Regions from separate parts of the Homo sapiens genome. Here region 1 is linked to region 2. Evidence: promoter capture Hi-C in human tissues and cell types (Jung and others, 2019). All regions are on one chromosome and are shown on one strand. Each heading gives the region's core, a stretch centred on a gene start or on the middle of the fragment in contact. The rest is flanking DNA. Distances are from core to core; before and after follow the strand shown. Region 1 overlaps PTPN3 (protein tyrosine phosphatase non-receptor type 3). Region 2 holds the start of ACTL7B (actin like 7B).

What was found. The method cuts DNA at HindIII sites, captures the fragments that hold promoters and counts their contacts. A contact is called where the count stands out against the background at its distance.
Region 1: a contact is called between a fragment that was not itself captured here and the fragment with the promoter of ACTL7B in region 2, in 1 of the 25 tissues and cell types used here (lymphoblastoid cells).

What each region holds. Positions count from the first base shown.
Region 1 is chr9:109,453,305-109,459,744 of GRCh38, reverse strand. PTPN3 (protein tyrosine phosphatase non-receptor type 3) reads left to right here. Exons shown (of 26, transcript NM_002829.4): 3 at 2,346-2,453; 4 at 2,530-2,572; 5 at 5,171-5,249. Among named protein-coding and RNA genes, the nearest start is that of PTPN3, 42 kb to the left of the region's middle. The HindIII fragment of the contact is 4,671 bases long and covers 1,245-5,915 here.
Region 2 is chr9:108,854,460-108,860,203 of GRCh38, reverse strand. It overlaps ACTL7B (actin like 7B), which reads left to right and starts at 4,218. Exons shown (of 1, transcript NM_006686.4): 1 at 4,218-5,616. The coding sequence starts at 4,274. The coding sequence ends at 5,521. The HindIII fragment of the contact is 7,542 bases long and covers 1-4,588 here.

The DNA.
Region 1 (6,440 bases), core at 2,331-4,830, 600 kb before region 2:
CGAGTGAGCATCATATCAAGCCTTACAACAGGCTGGGTGCAGTGGTTAATGCCTGTATTCTCAGCACTTTGAGAGGCCAAAGCAGGAGGATCCCTTGAGCCCAGGAGTTTGAGGTTACAGTGAGCTAATTGTACCACTGCACTCCAGCAGGGGCAGTGGAGCAAGACCCTGTCTCTAAAAAAATAAAAAAGTCTTAGAGCCTGGCAAACAGTGAGCACCCAGAAATTCTTAGTTATGAACGTCATTGTTCTTATCACGTGGCTGCCACCCCAAGCTTCCAGCAGCCTGGTTCAAAGCTGAGTCCCATGGAACTTGAGAAGTTGGAGGGCCTGGTTGCAACTTGGAGTATCCCTCACTTTGTGTCTTTCTATGTGTAGGAATTGTTTGCACAGTCTCATTCAGACTCTTTAGCCCAGCCCACCTTGTGACCAGGAGCAGATGTCAGGGAAGCTGACTTGGATATCAGTCGTTCTTCTCTCAGCCCAGGGAGCGAGCCCTGGTGGTGACCTGGTGCCGTGAAGATGACCTCTTGAGGGCAGGGGCCAGGCCAGGAGGCCTTTTCTTATTATAAATGTGTTTTTTGTTATTACATTTTAATTTCTCTTGAGAACTGGATGAATTATGCAGAATAGATACCTGTATATGTGAATTATGCACTTCAGAGGAGGAGATGTAGTAGGAACAAACAGACCTGAGTCAGGCAGTCAGACTGTCCTTCTGCTGATGGTGCAAGGCACGGAGCCTCTCGGTGCCTCTGCTCGTTGGCAAGGGAGATGGTGATGACTACTACACTTTGCAAAGTTGCTGCAAAGATTAGAGATCATATATAAAAAGCACATTGGCATAATGTCTGGCTCCTTGTAGATGTTCAGTAAATTGTAGTTAATAATATATATTAAATGTAATATAAAATCATACATAAATAATTCCGACAAGGGGAGCAGCTAGCTTTTTGACATCTGGTAATGTGCAATGTGTGGTCTGGGTCATTCTTTCCCCACCTATTGTGATTCTTTTCTGATGGATGGTGCCCTGGGTAGAAGGAGCAGGAGGTACAAGCGCTGTTGGGCAGGAAAGGGGGCATGTTCAGGAAATGGGCGTGTTTCATGTTCCCACACTTCAGACCGAATAATCTGAGGCTGCCCCAAAGAAGTCTCTGCAGGTGGGGCCTGACAGTTATCTAATTCTCCCAATGCTGGTCACTGTGACCTATTTTCAAGTACATTATTTGCTCTCAGGCACTCAAAAAAAGGAGCTACCTTTGCCTGTTCTATACACGGTCTATTTCTGACTCATATTGTCCTTTAGTTAAATGGTTTGGTTCAAAGGATTCCTGCAAAGTCTGCCTGTTAAAGTAGAATTTGCAGTTTTCCAAACACTCCATGCTGTTTGCCATCCCTGGGCCTTTGTGCCGGGCCATCTGATCCAAAGGCCTGTTTTTAGCTCGTGTGCCTGGAGGGGAGGGGTGATGCTTGGCCCTGTCCTCCTCCCAAACCCAGATCAGGGGGTTGCTTCCTCTACGGCCCCAGTCGAGATGACCATTTGTGTGGTCCCGTTGGGTGTCCACTGTGCCTCGACTGTTTCACAGCCCTCGACGGCCTTTGACACTCTGTTACAGCCACTGCCTCCATGGCTGGGGCAGGAAAAGGGAGCTTCTTATGGCCGTGTCCCCATTCCCACACCGTGCCTGCCCCATAAACATGGAGCGGGGAAGGCAATGGAGTCCTGATCTGAAGAGGCGTGTGGTTGAACGTGCCCCTCAGCTTCTCACTTCAGATGATGGGAAGGGGAAGCAGGGAGGCAGATAATCCCACAGGGTGGCACAGGCCACATCACTCTGAGGGTATTTTGAATGGCAGTTGAGTATTTTTAGCTGTCTTCCTTTAGGCTGTTAGGTGAGAGCTTTCCTTTCCTGGACATGCACTTCGGTGGCTTCTCCAGGAGTAGGAGCCACAGGTGTGTCCTGAGGAGCCAACAGAAACCACCCTGGGGTTAGCATTTCATTGTGGATAATCCACTGGAGGCCACAGGGAGTTCACTGTGATTATGAGAGCTGAGTTTTCCGATTTAGACATTATCACTTGGGAATTGCAGCTAAGGGGGAAGGAAGAAATCTTAGACAATTAAATTAAACTCGTATTGTCTTGTGTTGATGTCATTTTTCTTAGCCCTACTTCCCATATGTGCTGTGTGGCTTCTTAAAATTTATTAAAGCTTTTCTTGTGGTGGGAAGTGTGTGTGCATAGCATTTCTGAATATTTTAACTCTTTTTTGCCTACAGTAAAGATGTTTTTACCACCAATTAATTTAAGACTTTTCCCACTTGATAATTTCCTTTGTTCTAGAAACAAGACACTGGCCAGGTTCTTCTGGATATGGTGCACAACCACCTGGGTGTGACTGAAAAGGAATATTTTGGTTTACAGCATGATGACGACTCCGTGGACTCTCCTGTAAGTGCCATTTTTAAAAAATGTGCTGAACTCCTTCACGGTTTGCTTTTATATTTTATGTTTTCTTGTCCAACAGAGATGGCTGGAAGCAAGCAAAGCCATCAGGAAGCAGTTAAAAGGTTGGTGTGATCTTTTCATTTCAGTCGAACATTAGGTGTTAGTGTATCACAGCCTGTTTCTCCCCTCCAATCGTCAGTGCCTGTGACATCTGGTACCTGTAGTTCCGGGTGTCCAGGAGTCATGAGTGAGCCGACTTCTCCCTGTCTGACTTCTGAGTCAGCAGAGATGCTTCCAGATCAGCCCTCTAGGATCCGCCCCAGCTGTGGGAAAGAAGGGGAAGGGTGAGAGTAGGCAGCTCAGAGCGAGGGAACCCACATTTCTGTATTCAAGGAAGGAAAAGGAAGGAGGATGGCCTTACTTAGCCCGATGTGAGAGCCAGGGTGGACAAGAGAGACAGGGAGATAGACAAACACAAACACCTCATACTTTCCAACAGCATAGTCGCGTTCACGGAAAACCGAACCATAAGTAGGTAATGTCACCAATATAAAAGATTAAGTCTTCCAAACTACCGCTTATCTCTCAGGAGTGAATCCCAGTGCTGCAGCTAACTCCCAGTTCGGTGGCCAGTCAGGCCACACCATAGTCCACCCTCTGCCCTGATCTGCTCTCGGCCTGATGTTCCAACATTGCCAGCATTGTTCCCCTTTATGCCACTCATGCCCCAGACCAACCTGGCTGATCTGCAGGGCCTCCCAGTGCCTCCCCTCAGTCTGTTCCATCTGCTGGGAATGCTTTTCCCTCCCACTTCCCTCTGTCGAAATCCTGCCTTTTTTCAAGGCTGCTCAGATCTCATTTCCTCTCCTAGAAACTGTGGGTGGCTCCCTCGACATTCTCTTAGATTTACCATCACCCGTGTTGGGGTTCTGAATGCTCTTGTCCTCATCTGTGTTAGTTGCCTTTAGTTCCCTCTCAGAACTGCAAGTTCCTTGAGGTTAGGACCCTTGTTATATTTCTCTCTGCATCCCCAAGGTGCCCAACACACACAAAAAGTGGCCAGTGCATGGCGGAGTGGAGAAGGGCAAGTGGATTTGCGCACGCAGGTGCGCATACACAGGATGCCCCCCAACACACACACGCACACCTGCCTCAGCACCCAGGCAGGAAGAAGTAGACACAGTGGCCTTCGCTCCCGTCTCACTGCTGCCCCCACAGGGAGCCCGATTCTCAAAGTTCTTCCCTCCCATGAGCTGCATCCTCTGCGTTCAGAAGTACCTGTGGGAGCCTCAGGGCCACTTGCAGACAAATACCTGCCTCATCCAAGTCCCCAGGAATGAGTCCACACAAGGCATGAATAGGTGTTGTCATTCATTCTCTCATTAACTCCTGCTTTCGGTGAACGTATCCTGAGCTCAGACTGTGGCAAGGTGCTGGGCTAAGCCCTGGGAATCCAGTCCAGATCAAATTTGGACTCTCCCCTCAAGGAGCCCACAGCCAAGTGTGCAGACAGCCCAGAGGGTTCGACATTCTATGATAATAGTAAGCACACGATAGGGGACAGCCAGAAAGAAAAAGAGGCTATGCCTGCAGCGCAGAGATGAAAAGTTTTAGAAGAGGGGGAGGGGAGGTGAACAAGCATCCCAAGGCAGCAGGAGGACATTGTTCTCCCCTGATGTGCAGATTGTCATAGCGCCATCCGCTGGTACCTAGACATGTGGACAGGTGTACTCAGGGGCACACCCCCGTTAGGGATTCTTTGAACACACGCTGCAGATGAAGAAAGAAAGCACTAAAGAGCAGGGAGGGTAGAGCTCAGGATGATCTCAGGTAGAGGAGGAGATCTAGCAGGCTAGTGAGAAGGACTTGAGTTGCAGAGAGCAAGAAAGTGCTCAGTGCCTAGATAGGGCTGGCGAATATTTACTGAGGGATGATGGTGAAATTGACATGAAGATCTTGGGATCTTAGCAGCACAATCTGATCTTCTCCTGTTGCCGTCTCTGTGAGAAGAAATGGACTAATTTTATCCACACAAGCAAATTGACTCTAGATGTTGATGCATAAAGCCGTATTTGAATATGTTCATTGTGTGATTTACTAGTATACTAACTTAATATACTTTACATTAAAAGCATGAGATATTTTCTAGTTTAAAAATGATTTTGAAATGTGGTATAGCAGAATCAAAGATCTCATTACTCTAATTCTGGTTTTGTCACCAGCTGTGTGACCTAAGGCAAGTCACCTCTAATTGGCTTATCTGTAAAATGGGGCTACCAGTAGCAGCGTAGCCCACTCATAGTCATGGTGGTGTTGAAATGCAGGAATGTACATGAAAATGCTTGAAACTTATAAATGGCTACACAAACGCAGGCTATTATTTCTTTGTATATTTTGCATAATAATGCCGATTTAAGGATTTTTTAAATTCCTAATACAGATGACGGAGTGCAATGTTTAAACACAGCCCTAAGATAAACGTGTGCTAGGAAGTAGATGATAACTCAGTCTGTGCTGATGTTGCATAAATGTTTTACTTTTTGAAGACTTGGAGATTTCTGAAACAACTAACTTATGTACTCCATGTTTGAAATTAGCCCTTTTATAATGGAAAAAGCTATGGTTGAGTGAAAAAATGCATCACTTATGGAAGAGAAGCAACTTACATACATTGACTTTGTCAAAGGGAAAATTTAATTTGTTTTTGAAAAATGTTGTAGGAGGTTTCCCCTGTACCCTGCATTTTCGAGTAAGATTTTTTATACCTGATCCCAACACACTGCAGCAAGAACAAACCAGGTAACAACATTTTTTTAAAGTTTTCTGTTTAGTGTATAAAAATGAGTAACCACTAAAAATGTACTCTTCATTTTATTACTATGGCCAAATAACTTCATTTGGGTGTAACTACACCAACAATGATGATCCAAGTAAAAATCTGGGGTGCACATACTGACATTTTAATCACCTAATGAGTTTTCAGTCTTGGGCCTGCTTCTCTTATCTCCTGATTTGCTGCCATTCCCAGCATACTCCCATCTGCCACCTCCTACCTCTCCCACCTCCTTCCACCTCCCTGGCCTCTCCTGCCTGCTGAACACACTGTGCTCAAAGGACAAAAAGTCATTTTCTACCAATGTAGGCAGGATGTAGAAGACAAATTTGTAAAATAGTCATCCACAGGTCAAATAGCATGATGTCTCTGAAGAGCTAAAATCAAGGCTCTTGAAGATAACAAGACATCTCTTGTTATAAGAATTTTCTTTCTTTTTTTTTGTTTTGAGACGGAGTCTCTCTCTTCACCCTGGCTGGAGCGCAGAGGTGCGAGCTTGGCTCACTGCAACCTCCGCCTCCCAGGTTCAAGCGATCCTCCCACCTCAGCCTCCCGAGTAGCTAGGATTACAGGCAGGTACCACCATGCCTGGCTAATTTTTTTTTTTTTTTTTTTTAACGGAGATGGGGTTTCCATGTCGTCCAGGCTGGTCTCAAACTCCTGACCTCAAGTGATCTGCCTGCCTCAGCCTCCCAAGGTGCTGGGATTATAGGCATGAGTCACCAGGCCAGCTTTGTTATAAGAATTTTCTATCAGATCCCCAGTTTGCAAGAGTTAGAAAGGAGAGCAGGCTGGATTCAGCTTGTCTTCTCAGTGAATCAGCAAGTACAGGAAATATGTGAACCAGATAAGGGAAAGAGGGCTGTGATAGGAGTTGTTTACCCCTCAGGGCTTGGAGTCTCTCCCAACCCTGGGCTGGTACTGGGGTTTTTCTAGGTGTGAGGGACAGAGTAATTGGAATGGAGTAGGAGAGTGTAGCACAAGAAAGTTGTTGCTGTTTTAACACAGACTGCACAAACAAACTTTCCCTCCCCTGTGGCAACGTTAAGCCCTTTTATTATTGATCCATTTATTTTTCTTAGGGAGGGAAGCTATAGAAAAAAAGCAATAGATGCTTAGTATTGAATCCTGTTTTACATTCATCGTGGCCAAAAGAC
Region 2 (5,744 bases), core at 2,969-5,468:
ATAAGGACCCTTGTGATTACATTGGCCCCACCCAGGCCATACAGGATACTCTCCCCATCTCAGATTCCTTCATTTAATCACATCCACAGAATCCCTTTTGGCATGAAAGTTAATATAGTCACAGGTCCCAGGGATTAAGATGTGGACACCTTTGGAGGACCCTTTCACCTGTTCAGTGCCTCCCTCTTTGCTAATACACTCCAAGCCTGACATGCTCTGACTCATTTGCTCTTCGTGGGCTGCCCAGGCTTGCCCATCTGTCATCTGTCATCACACTTTCTGCATTTGTGTGTGGAAGAGGTGATGCTTTAGTGTAAGGCAGTCACTCTATCTAGTCTGTAAGGTCCTTGAGCATAGGGATTCCCCTCACATTCTCTGAGCAAAAGCCAATGAAACACTTGCCCTCCTTTTACTTCACCACTGAGTTTCACATGTTGGGTGCTCCTAATAAAAACCCTGTTTCCCCTAAGCTTCCTGTTACCCTCTGTGCCTCTTCTCTCCCTCTATGGGTCATCACACGGTTAGTGGTAATGATGGAAGAATGCAGAGACTGTGGACACCGTGCCCCAAACCTCCACTGCCTAGCACACACACCCCCCATAATTGTCACCAGCTAAGGTCTGTGTGGGCCCTCTGGGGTCCCTAGTGAGGTCCCTCTTGGGAGAGGCACCCTATAGTGCTCAAAATATATTGGGCCACATTTTCTAATGGGATCACACCTACTTTTAGCCCTCTGGCTCAAGACCAAAAAAACCATGGGATGACCCCTTTTCAAATGCAACCCTGGGATCCTCTTCTATAGTGGAGGGAGAGAACATGGAAAGGTGAGATTAAAGAACACACTTCTGCCTGAGGTGCATCCTGGCTCCTGGCTTCAGTTTTGGGACACTGCCCACCCTTGACCTTTGGAGGAGAGGTGAGCCAGGCCTCTGGAATTTTAGCAGCAATGGGAGGGAAAAAAAGAAAATCCAGCATGGCATTTCTTCTCATGAATCACCTGGAGTTTTTCTTAAAAATTACTGGAGCCCACCACAGCCTTTCCAACTCTTGAATATGCTGGAGAACCCCTGAGTCAGGAGCTCCCAACAAAGAAGATCCTTGCCAAACAGGCACTTTGAGCTGCTTTCTCACAGCTCAGATCCCAGTGTGGACACCCAGGTCCCAAGACTGTGTCCATTTCCCCGAGGTGGAAGGGAGAGGAGCTGTCTTCAGGGGCAGATGTGCTACTGAGCATGCAAATGTGGATCCGGATGCTTCCCTTTCCATGTGCTCCAGCCCAGTGTCCCACAGCCTAGTGACCTTTGGGCATCTCTAAGTCAGCAGACCCCAAATGTGAGTGTGTGTGTGTGTGTGTGTGTGTGTGTGTGTATGTGTGTGTGTCACCATCATCCACTTAGCAGCTCAAGGCAGAGACCTGGAGGCTGTGGGTAGGGGTCAAGTTGACGAGGGGACATAGCAAAATGGTAATCACATTCAAACAACATTTCAAGTAGTTTACCCAAAGTCATACAGATTATAAATAATAAGTCTATGTTTGAACCCAGGTCTTCGGAATCCAGTTCCTCAGTCTTCCATCTGCTCTGTACTGCCTTTCTGTAAGGAATGGATAAAAAGTAGGCTCTGGCAGTCCATGAATACTGCCTTTAAATAGCCTAAGAGTTGTCGTGGAAGAATTTGCTTGCCCCGTAGAACTTCAAGAGTAGACCCAAGACCATTTAATGGCTTCAGAGAGGTACACATGCCAATCCAGTGTGACGAAACGTTTATCACTCATGGCTGGCCAAAATAGGGTGAGCTGTCCATGTCAGACTACTGGATGGAATGTTCTAGAAGGAACTGAAGGGTCCAATCCTCAGCTTCTGTGATTTCATGATCCCACCACAGGGCATTTCTGGGTCATGATGTTCATAATTATAACCCTTAGAAAGTTGTTACCCAAATAATATAGTTGAATGCTGCCATGTTCCAAGAAACAATTCAGCGGGCTGGGCATGGTGGCTCACACCTGTAATCCCAGCACTTTGGGAGGCCAAGGCGGGCGGATCACGAGATCAGGAGTTCAATGTCAGCCTGGCCAACATGGTGAAACCCCGTCTCTACCAAAAATACAAAAATTAGCCAGGCGTGGTAGCAGGTGCCTGTAATCCCAGCTACTGGGGAGGCTGAGGCAGGAGAATCGCTTGAAACTGGAAGGCGGAGGTTGCAGTGAGCTGAGATCGCGCCACTGCACTCCAGACTGGGCGAAAGAGCGAAACTCTGTCTCAGAAACAAACAAACAAACAAAAATTTGGCAAACAAAAATCCCCACACATTCCTCATTAGCATTCTTACATGCTCCATGGCAGTATTTCTTAACTCTTTTTCCCCCATGCATGTTGCCTAATCAATTCCTCAGGCACCTCTGCTCATCTTAATTCTCCCAGAAAACTTCCTCAGGCCCAGTTGCCGCTCTTCCCCTTTTTCTGTTGACTCTTCACCACCAAAGCCCTAAACTGCCTTTTTGATTTTTGGAGTGGGAGGGGGCAGCTTAAGTTGCAGGTCCCTCTGGCACTCTCGTGAATTTGTCCTTTCTGGATGACAGGCCATCTTTCTTTGCCCGGGTACAAGTAAGCGATTCATCCTTCCCTCTGCCTCACATCCCACATCACAGGAGCCCATGAGGGAAGCCCTGAAATGTCAGAGTAAGAGCTTGGATTAAAGTGAGGGATGGTTGGGGAAAAAACAGATTGGATTCTATTCTACTTTCTAAGTTTCTCTAGAACTAGGCTCTTCCTTGTTTCCACACTCTCACAGCCCTAGGTCAGGCCACCTTCAAGTCTTATCAGAAGTTCTCCAATGGCCTCGTTTCGGGTCTCAGTTTCTAGTCTTGCCCCTCCCATCCATTCTCTACATTACAGCCCAATGCAGATCTTTCTAACATTTTTATTTTTCTTTTCTTTTTTTTTGAGATGGAGTCTCACTCTGTCTCCCAGGCTGGAGTGCAGTGGTGCGATCTCAGCTCACTGCAACCTTTGCCTCCCAGGTTGAAGCAATTCTCTGCCTCAGCCCCCCAAGTAGCTGGGATTACAGGCACCCGCCACCATGCCCAGCTAATTTTTGTATTTTTAGTAGAGATGGGGTTTCACCATCTTGGCCAGGCTGGTCTTGAACTCCTGACCTCATGATCCACCTGCCTCAGCCTCCCAAAGTGCTGGTGGGATTACAGGCATGAGCCACCACGCCCGGCCCTTTCTAACATTTTTCTAGAGGGCAAATCTGATCATTCCCCTGCTTAAAGTCTTCATAGCTTCCCTGGCTCTCCTCAGTTTAGTCTAAACCTACTCCTGCCATTTGATGCCCTTTCTATTTGGCTCTGTGACTTCTCTAGCTTCATCTGTTTTTCCAAACACTTTGACTGTGGGAAGTTCTTCACCGTGCCTCCATTTGAGCCTTTGCTCAAGCTGTGCTCTCTGCCTGGGATGTCTTCCCCTCCTCTTAACTACTTGACAAATACCTACACCTCTTCCAGGATTCAACTTAAGCATCACCTCCTCTCTAGAGCACCTTCTGACTGCCTGTCTCAAATGAGTTCTCCAAGTAGACTTCTTCCTGCAAACCCATCGGCACCCATTCCATTTTCTTGTCTAGACTGGGCACTGCTGGTGGCCTGGGTTTTTAATCATCTATCACTGGCAGGCTGCACTGGGCGGGACCTACTATATACTCCAGTAAATGTGGAGTGAAGGGAGGAAAGAACTCTTGGGGCGGTTAAGGAGGCCTGGTGCATTGGAGTTTGATGAATTTGGGTTAAGGTACAAACACCCCAAGTGCTGTTTGCTCTTGGGCAAGTCCTTAGAATTCTGAGCCTCATTTCCTCAGCTCTGCCTACCTGCAGAACAACATAAGTGAAGTAACTAGTACAGTGCCTGCCTTACTGGAGGGGCTCAAATAGGCCCTCTCCACCAAGAAGCAGAAGAGGAAAGGTGTCCAGTAGTGAACAGGTTAGGCATGGAAATGCAAGGGGGCTGAGCAGAAACCTCTGAGACCCTAGTGTGCTTGGATTTCTAAAACTGCCGGCCACCTGCTCTGTCCGGGAGCAAACTTGAGTTAGAGAGGTGGGGGTGACACACCAAGAACCGACCAAAGCCAGGCCCTCCCCTGCTGCCTGAATGGACCAGCCCCGAGTGACATCACAATCCCGGGTGGTTGTCATGGCACTGCTGGAGGTGGGGGATCTCATTTCTCCCCAGGGGGCTCTAGGCTGTGGATGTGAGAAGGGGAGCAAGGGAGGCAGATGGCGACAAGGAACAGCCCCATGCCCCTGGGCACGGCTCAGGGTGACCCTGGAGAGGCAGGAACACGGCCCGGCCCTGACGCCAGCCTCCGGGACACAGGTGCGGCCACTCAGCTCAAGATGAAGCCCAGGAAGGTGCACAAGATCAAGGCGGTCATCATCGACCTGGGCTCCCAGTACTGCAAGTGCGGCTACGCGGGAGAGCCGAGGCCCACCTACTTCATCTCCTCCACCGTGGGCAAACGCTGCCCCGAGGCGGCCGACGCTGGCGACACCCGCAAGTGGACTTTAGTGGGCCATGAGCTGCTCAACACGGAGGCGCCTCTCAAGCTGGTGAACCCGCTGAAGCACGGCATCGTGGTGGACTGGGACTGCGTGCAGGACATCTGGGAGTACATCTTCCGCACCGCCATGAAGATCCTCCCCGAGGAGCACGCTGTGCTGGTCTCCGACCCTCCGCTCAGCCCCAGCAGCAACCGGGAGAAGTACGCGGAGCTCATGTTTGAGACCTTCGGCATCCCAGCCATGCACGTGACGTCCCAGTCGTTGCTGTCCATCTACTCCTACGGCAAGACCTCGGGGCTGGTGGTGGAGAGCGGGCACGGCGTCTCGCACGTGGTGCCCATATCCGAGGGCGACGTGCTGCCGGGCCTGACCAGCCGCGCCGACTACGCTGGGGGTGACCTCACCAACTACCTGATGCAGCTGCTCAATGAGGCGGGCCACGCATTCACGGACGACCACCTGCACATCATAGAGCACATCAAGAAGAAGTGCTGCTATGCGGCCTTCCTGCCCGAGGAGGAGCTGGGCCTGGTCCCGGAGGAGCTGCGCGTGGACTACGAGCTCCCGGACGGCAAACTCATCACTATTGGCCAGGAGCGCTTCCGTTGCTCTGAGATGCTCTTCCAGCCCTCCCTGGCAGGCAGCACCCAGCCGGGCCTCCCGGAGCTCACAGCTGCCTGCCTGGGCCGCTGCCAGGACACGGGCTTCAAGGAGGAGATGGCCGCCAACGTGCTACTGTGTGGCGGCTGCACTATGCTGGATGGCTTCCCCGAGCGCTTCCAGAGGGAGCTGAGCCTCCTCTGCCCCGGGGACAGCCCTGCAGTGGCTGCCGCTCCTGAGAGGAAGACCTCCGTGTGGACCGGCGGTTCCATCCTGGCCTCCCTGCAGGCCTTCCAACAGCTCTGGGTCAGCAAGGAAGAGTTTGAGGAGCGGGGCAGCGTGGCCATCTACAGCAAGTGCTGAGCCTCGGCATTTCCACAGACAAGGCCTCCAGCACAGATGGCCACAGGCCTCTCTATACACATTTACAGAATTTCACATAAAGGTTTACTCTGAAATGGCTCTTGTCTAGTCTGGGTTTCTTGCTTCTATCTGATAGCAGAGGGTAGGGGGGAGTCGGGCTTAGAAGCGGCAGCACCTTTTGCACTGGAGGTGGGGGCTGTAAGGAAGGGGGCTACCATACTGA